Linked DNA regions of Homo sapiens: all the other regions are linked to region 2. Evidence: promoter capture Hi-C in human tissues and cell types (Jung and others, 2019). All regions are on one chromosome and are shown on one strand. Each heading gives the region's core, a stretch centred on a gene start or on the middle of the fragment in contact. The rest is flanking DNA. Distances are from core to core; before and after follow the strand shown. Region 1 overlaps GAB2 (GRB2 associated binding protein 2). Region 2 holds the start of NARS2 (asparaginyl-tRNA synthetase 2, mitochondrial). Region 3 overlaps GAB2 (GRB2 associated binding protein 2).

Region 1 (2,700 bases), core at 189-2,688, 260 kb after region 2:
TAACTTAAAAAGAACCTTGAAACAAAAGATTGCATCAGGAGGAAAGGAAGGAGCAAAGATTCGTTGCCAAGTTCTTTGCTGAATGCTTAATATATGTTACTTTTTAAAAAAATTATTTCTTCTTTTGATTGTGATAAAATACACATAACATAAAGTTTACCATCATAATCATCTTTTTTTTTTTTTTTTTTTTTTTGAGACGGAGTCTCGCACTGTTGCCAGGCTGGAGTGCAGTGGCGCCATCTCAGCTCACTGCAACCTCCGCCTCCCAGGTTCAAGCGATTATCCCGATTCAGCCTCCCGAGTGGCTGGGACTACAGCTGCCCGCCACCACACCCAGCTAATTTTTGTATTTTTAGTAGAGATGGGGTATCACCATGTTGGCCAGAATGGTCTCAATCTCTTAACTTACGATCTGTCCACCTTGGCTCCCAAAGTGCTGGGATTACAGGCGTGAGCCACTGTGCCCGGCCCATCGTAATCACTTTTAAGTGTATAGTTCAGTGACATTAAATGCATTCATATTGCTGTGCAGCCATTACCACCATCCATCTCCAAAACTCCTTTCAGCTTCCCAAACTGAAACTATACCCATTAGACATTGATGCCCTATTCCTCCGGTGGCCTAATAACCACTGTTGTATTTTTTGTCTCTCTGAATCTGGCTACTCTAGGCTTGCCATGTAACTTTGTCATATAAGTGGAATCACATGGTATTTTCTAACTGCTTATTTCACTTAGCTTAATGCCCTTAAGGTTCATCCCTGCTGTAGCATGTGTCAGAATTTCCTTCCTTTTTAAGGCTGAATAGTATTCCATTGTATGCATGTACTGTGTTTTATATCTCCATTCATCCACCAGTGACATGTGGGTAGCTTCCACCTTTTGGCTCTTCTGACTAATGCTGCAATGAACATAGGTGTAAAAATATTCCGTTTGTGTTCCTGCTTTCAGTTTTTTGGGGTCTGTATCCAAAAGTAGAATTACTGGATCATATGGTAATTCTATTTTCAATTTTTTGAGGAATTGCCTTACTCTCTTCTATAGCAGCTGCACTATTTTATATCCCCACCAACATTGCACAAGGGTTCCAGTTTCTCCATATTCTCACCAACACTTATTTCTATTTTTTAAAGTAGCCATATTAATAGGTGCAAGGTAGTATTTCATTGTTTTGATTTGCATTTCCCCAATGATTAGTGACATGAGCATCTTTTCATGTGCTTCTTGGTCATTTTGTATCCCTTCTTTGGAGAGATGTCTATTCAAGTCCTTTGTCAATTTTTAGTTAAGTTGTTTGTTTTTGTTGTTATTGTAGTTCTTTATATATTCTAGTTATTAACCCCTTATAATCCTGTACTAGTCAGTGTTCTCCAGAGGGACAGAACTAATAATATGTATATATGAAAGGGAGTTTATACATATTTCATAATATGTATATTATGAAAGTAAAGAATTGGCTCACACAGTTATAATGCAAAGTCCCACAATAGGCCATCTGGAAGCTGGGGAAGAGAGAAGCCGGTAGTGGCTCAGTTTGGGTCTGAAAGCCTCAAAACCAGGGAAAACAACAGTGCAGCCTTTAAGTCAGTCCCAAAGGCAGGACACCCACCCCCTGGCCCCCCGTGCAAGTCCCAGTGTCAGGCCAAAGAACCTGAAGTCTGATGTCCAAGGGCAGGAGGAGCGGGAGGAAGCATCCAATATGGCAGGGGGAGGGGGAGTGGGGAGAAGGAAGCCAGAAGCCTCAGCAAGCAAGCTTATTCCACCTTCTTCCGCTTGCTTTCTTCTGGCCATGCTGACAGGCAGTAGGATGGTGCCCAACCATATTAAGGGTGACTCTTCCTTTCTCAGTACACTGACTCAAATGTCAACCTCCTCTGGCAGCACCTTCACAGATAAACCCAGAAACAGTACTTCGCCAGCCATCTAGGCATCCTTCAATCCAATCAAGTTGACACCTAATATTAACCATCACAAATCCTTTACCAGATATATGATTTGCAAATATTTTCTTCCATTCAGTGGATTGTCTTTTCACTTGGTTGATTGTGTCCTTTGATTCACTAAAGTTTTAATTTTGATGTCCAATTTATCTATTTTTTGTTTTGCTACCTATACCTTTGGTGTCACATCCAAGAAAACATTGTCAAATCCATTGTCATGAAACATTTTTTCTATGTTTTCTTCTGAGAGGTTTATCATTTTCATTCTTATATTTAGGTCTTTGGTCCATTTTGAGTTAATTTTTGTATATGGTATAAGGGTCCAGCTGTTTTTTTACATGTGGATATCCAGTTTTCCCAGCACCATTTGCTGAAAAGTTCTGTTATTTCTTTTGTATTTGTGTGATAGTCCTAGGATGTGTTATAATTACCTTATAGATGAGAAAACAGAAGGTGAAATATTCCTGAGGATCCCCTAAAAGCAGGCTTCTTGCTATCCTTGGCAGTTCAAAGACATTAAAAAGGGGGGAAAGCCATTTTGAAATAATGCGAGAAGAAGAGGGGAATAGACTGAGAGGAAAAGCAAAACAAAATAAAATAAGATTGGGATAGACAGCCAGCCGTGAGCAGAACTTTGAAGTGTGTTTATAATTCACTCAGAGACCTCCTCCCCCCTGCCCTTTTACTCTCCTTCCTTCTCTTACTCTCTCAATTAGCTCCTTCAGTTTGCTGTCTCTTCTGAAACTCTTTGAAAGCT
Region 2 (2,700 bases), core at 184-2,683:
TATAATATATCCAATATAATTTAATTATATATTATAATTTATAATTATAATTTTATTATATTTATAATTTTAATTTATTAAAAGAACCAGGGAACACATTTATATTATATAAAATATAAAATTGTGATACATGTATATATTATAATTGTATTATATTTTATCCAATATAATATTTGGATAAAATATCAAAAATAATTTTTTGGATAAATTTAAGAGGTAGCCTAATATATAAGGGTGACTTTTCAGTCCAAACAAATGCAGACAACTCATACATCTATGTGTGCACTTACTGGTTTATATTTCAGTAGTCTCTTTTCTTGCTTGTCTCCATCTCTAAAGCATGAGCTCCTTGATGGAACAGATCACCTTGGGACACTATGTAATACAGCATACTGCTTAAGTGCATAGAGCCAGCACTTCTGGGTTTAAATCTCACACTTAGGGAATGTGTATCCTTAAGTAGGTCATCTAGCCTTTCTGTGCGTAAGTTCTCTCATTTGTAAAATGGGTATAATAATAGTAGCAACTTTAAGTAAGGTAAAAGTGAGAGAGAGAGAGTGAGAGTGAGAGGGAGCGGGAGAGAGACAGCGAGGGCGAGCGCTGGTCTTGAACTCCTGGGCTGAAGCAATCCTCCTGCTTCTGCCTCCCTAAGAGTTGGGATTACAGGCGTGAGCCACCGCACTTGGCCAAACGTTTTACTTTTTAAATTAGATTAAAAACCTTTTAATGACCGTCATTGAGTTACAGAATTTTTTTTTTAATAAAACGTAGCCTAATATATAAAAGGGTCATTGTTTCCAGGTCAAACAAATGCAGATAGCTGTGTTGGAGGGCAGAGGGAAGAGGGAGACTTGGAGGATTCTGGCAGGAAACACTCGAGTTTCCTCCAGTCTCTGCAACATCTTCCCACCGTCTTGCCTGCCATATGCAAGGTCCCTCCAGTTCCTTTTATTTACCTGTCAGAGGACTACTTTCTCCAGGAAGCCATCTCTGGCGTCCCACGCTTAGGCTCTGTCAGGCAAACTGATCGCCCTTTTATGCAACTGTCTGTTTAGCTGTCTGATACCACACAACTGTGACTTGCGCATTGGGGCTATGTCTGATTTTTCTCTGCGGAGTACTCAGGAAAGGAACGACTGATCTCTTCAAGCGAATCCTGTTAACAGCTAAGAGCCTCCTCTTACTTGGATCCCTATTGTTGACTGATGGAGACGGTTTCCCTCTCCATCAGTCACTCCTTGCCTCTCAGTTTCTCAGCCTCACCTGGAAACTTTAGAAATGAAGACCCTCAGATGTGCTCCCACGTTCTTTCAGCGATAATCTCTACAACCTTAGGGCATTAGCTCCGCCCCGTCTCGGCTCCTGACCCCGCCCCCTCCCGCACGCCTCCCTAAGCCTGGGTCACAAGTACGCATGCTCTCCCTTCTTCCCCGTAGCGTGATGACGTAAGCGGCGTTGGCGTGGTGTGGTAGGAGTGGTTGCGCGTGTTGCGGCCCGGGTTCTGTTCGTAGGTTTACAATTGTCGCGGGTAGTGGGGCGCCCCAGCTGCCAACTGCACGTGGTTTCTTTCTGGCGTTTGCCTAGTGTCCTGTCCATTCCGCCCCGTTGGGAAGTGGGAAGCGGAGAGGTTCTGTGGGGACAGAGCTGGGAGTCCTGAAGGAGAAAGCGCGCAGCCGAGGGGCTCTGGAGTGCCTTAGAGCAGAGCTGCGGCCGCGGAAGGGGAGCAGCTGAGAAAGGAGGGCCGCTGCAGGCGGGGTTCGAACCGTGGGGTCTGGGCTGCTCCCGCGGAGGGCCTGGGCGGACGCGGGATGCTGGGGGTCCGCTGCCTGCTGCGGTCCGTGCGCTTCTGTTCCTCCGCCCCCTTCCCCAAGCACAAACCTTCAGCCAAACTGAGCGTGCGGGACGCTCTCGGGGCTCAGAACGCGAGTGGGGAGCGCATTAAGATCCAGGTTGGTGAATGGGAAGGGAGTGGGTTTTTTCTTGTAGGGACTTTTATATGGCACATCCACATCTAGCTTTTCTTTTACAGTCGGGTCAGACACAACCGCCAGCAGGGAAAAGTTAGAAAGTGTAGGCGTCGCGGGTTTGCACTTTTCTGATTTCCATTACTTTTCACAAAACTGTTCCGATAACTGTAAAGCGCTGGAACTTTGCTTTCATGATTCCAGGGTATTACCTGTAAACTTGTTAATCATACCAAAAGTGTAAATGAACAAGCCCCCTTTCTCTATCTTTATCCCTTATAATGAATATCCAGGTTTATAAAGTGGTTGTCTTGACCTCCCTCCTTGAGAGCAGAAACCGTGTCTTACCTGCCTTTGTATTCACACATGGCTGACAGCAAATACTTGTTCAAACCATGCCTTTTAAACTTTTAGCGACCTCAGTGCCTATTGTGGGGGTCTGCATGTAATTTATTTTTAATGAATTCGGAGAAAGACTGGAATGTAGCAGTTTGAAAGAGCTCTGGAGTTAAGCTGCTTAGGTTTAAATCTCTGCATAGCGTTTATGCGTTCTACACCTTATTTTCCTCTTATGGAAAGAGATAATAATTGTCCCTGAGTCCTGAAAATTAAATGAGGTAATGGAAGTAAGATATTTAGAACAGTGGCTCATAGTCTACAAATGTTAGCTGCTATTGTTTCTCTTGCTGATTATATTATTTGCAGCAGCTCCACATAGAAGAGGTGCAGAATAAAC
Region 3 (2,700 bases), core at 8-2,507, 290 kb after region 2:
ACCTGACAGGCTCTGATATTATCTGTAGCAAACATGGTTTTCTTGTTCATGAGGGTGTCTGTGTTTTTTGTGCTTGCACCTGCATACCAGAGATTTGGGGACAGCTCTTTCCACAGAGACAAGACTAACGGGGACACATCAACTGAAATGCCAGCTGAACTAGAAACAGATCTTTTTAAAATGCACCTTGGTGCCCACACACTATGTGTCTATGTGTGAACCTGCAGCACACAGAAGTACATGCATAATTCTGAAAGCAGTGACCGGGTTAAGATTTTAAATTACTATAAATAAATAGTACTTATTTTTATTTTTCTCAGCTCCATCCTATCTGGCTATACCTCAATTTTCATTTCAGTCTAAGGCTTATTGGGCACCAGTTATGTCTCCTTTGACCTGCTAGATAATAGAAGGATTTCATGCAAGAAAATGATTCATTAATTATATATATATTGATTACTAGCTATGTGCCAGGCAATATTCTAAACACCAAGGATGCATCATGGAATAAAAAGAACCAATCCTTGTCCTGGAGGAGTTTACTTTCTGGGAGGTGGGTGCGGAAAAGTCATAAAAATTGATATCTTTTGGGGGTATACATGCTTTGTGAGACCAGTAAAGCAGGGTAAGGGGGGAAAGAGAGTGGGAGCATCGGGGACCAGGAATAGCCTGTCCAGTAATGTGACATTTGAATAAGGACTAGAAAAAAAGATTAAGCAATGGAAATATCTGGGGGAGGAGTGTTCCAGGGCCAGGAAACAACTAGACTAAAGACCGTGAGGCAGGAGCACGCCTGGCACTGTGTAAGGCCACGTGGCCAGAGCAGAATAGGCAAGGCAGAGGGCAGCAGGAGCTGAGGTGAGGGGTGGGATGAGGCTCAGTCCCATCAGGCCTGTAGGCCATTGTGGGGACTTTGGCTTTACTCTGAGTGAGATGAACAGCCATTGCAGATGGTGAGCGGAGAAGTGGCATCTTCTGATTTACTTCCTGCTTTCTTACTTTGCGGTTGAGGATAGACTGCAGGATGAAAGGGTGGAAGCAGGAAGACTACAAAATGGTGGACTAGACCAGGTGAGCAACAGTGGAGGTGAGGAGAAGCAAGCTCATTGTTGATATATTCTGAACTGTCTGAACTGACAGGATTTGCTTTTGGGTTAGATGTAGAGTATGAAAGGAGTCAGCTATGATACATAGATTTTTGGTCTGACAACTGGAAGGCTGAAGGTGCTGGTAAATGAGATGGGAGAGAGTGCAGGAAGAACAGATCTGGGAGATATCAGGACCTCAGTTTTGAACACATTAATGTTGAGATACCTACTAGTGAGGAGTTGGATATACAACTCTAGGGCTAGAGATATAAATTTGGGAATCACAGCAATTCGATGGTTTTTTAAAGCTGTGAAACTGAATAAAATGACCTAGAGAGTGGGTGTAGAAAAAAAAAAAAGAATCTCAGAACTGAGCATTGGGGCATTCTAATGTTCGGATGTCAGGGAGGTGAAGAGGAGCCAGCACTGGAGACTGAAAAAGAGAGGCCCGGTAGATAGAAGGAGAGTTGAGAGTGCATGCTGAAGCCAGGTGAAGAAAGTGTTTCAAAGAGGATGGAATAATAAACTGTTGTCAGATGTTGGAGAGAGATCAAGAGAGATCAAGTTAAGGCCCATGAGTTGATTTATCAGCACTGAAGTCTTTGACACCTTTGATGAGCTATTTCAGTGGTGCAGTTGGGGTGGTGGGGGGATGGGGGATAGCCTGATTATAGTGCCTTCGAATAGGAGGGGAGGAAACAAAGATTAGTAGTATATAATACTCTTTGAAGTATCACTATAAAGAGAAGTAGAAAAACTGGGCCATAGTTGGTGAAGAATTGTGGGATCAAGTCAAACTTTTAATTTTTTCTTCTGAGATAGGAAACGTTGATGTCTTGATGGGAATCATCCTAGTCAGGAGGAAAAATGCAACGATTCTGAAGAAGGGGAGAATTGTTGAAGTGATGTCTTTGTGCACAAATGGAAAAAGGTTGGCCTTCATTGGGTGGACTGTCTATGCTCCCTAGTAACAGAGCTCACAGCTACAGGTGCAGGCAGGATGGTAAATGTAGTCATGGAACATGTGTAAATTTTCTTTTGATTGTTTGTGTTTTCTCATGAAATAAGATATAAAAGAGTGGAGGCATTGGAGGTTTAAAGAGAGAGGCCAAGAGATTGTTGCCAAAGAACAGGAGAAAGTCATTGACTAGGTAAATATAGTAGGATTGTTGGGCAACATGAGGGGCCACTTGAAGTAAAAGTGAGACCAGTCAGCATGGTCATATGATTTTCTCCATGTATGTACAGCCAAGTGGGAACAGGTAGAGTTGGCAGAGCATTAGACTTAGCTGGGGTTTGCTGGGTAAATAAGAGGAATGGAGAAAGAAGCAAGGGAATAATTATGATAATGGATCGCAGAAATAGAGTTGGATAAGGAAAGAAAAGAGGACAGGGATGAAAGGTGAGAGTGAAAAGATGGTAGAATTAATGGAGTGTAGATCCCATGGGGTCTAAAGAATTGTGATAATCAAATCCTTGACATTTGTAGTGCTTCAGGGTGTATACAAAGTGCTTTGGGCTCACATAATAACCCTATGGGGTAGGTAGGGAAAATGGTGGTGGTGGTAGTGATTTTCATATAGATGAGGCAGGATTCAAAGAGGTAAATGAC

The links. Contacts are between HindIII fragments. The study calls those that stand out against the background at their distance.
Region 1: a fragment that was not itself captured here is called in contact with the fragment with the promoter of NARS2 in region 2 in 1 of the 25 tissues and cell types used here (aorta).
Region 3: a contact is called between a fragment that was not itself captured here and the fragment with the promoter of NARS2 in region 2, in 1 of the 25 tissues and cell types used here (heart left ventricle).

The regions. Positions count from the first base shown.
Region 1 is chr11:78,315,055-78,317,754 of GRCh38, reverse strand. All of the region lies in intron 1 of GAB2 (GRB2 associated binding protein 2), which reads left to right. The region is part of intron 2 of LOC105369402 (a long non-coding RNA gene); the gene reads right to left. Among named protein-coding and RNA genes, the nearest start is that of GAB2, 100 kb to the left of the region's middle. The HindIII fragment of the contact is 3,914 bases long and covers 1-2,700 here.
Region 2 is chr11:78,573,597-78,576,296 of GRCh38, reverse strand. NARS2 (asparaginyl-tRNA synthetase 2, mitochondrial) reads left to right here and starts at 1,433. Exons shown (of 14, transcript NM_024678.6): 1 at 1,433-1,949. The coding sequence starts at 1,809. RefSeq lists enhancers at 1,138-1,277, 1,938-2,047. The HindIII fragment of the contact is 12,241 bases long and covers 1-2,700 here.
Region 3 is chr11:78,282,632-78,285,331 of GRCh38, reverse strand. The region is part of intron 1 of GAB2 (GRB2 associated binding protein 2); the gene reads left to right. Among named protein-coding and RNA genes, the nearest start is that of USP35, 95 kb to the right of the region's middle. The HindIII fragment of the contact is 4,493 bases long and covers 1-2,700 here.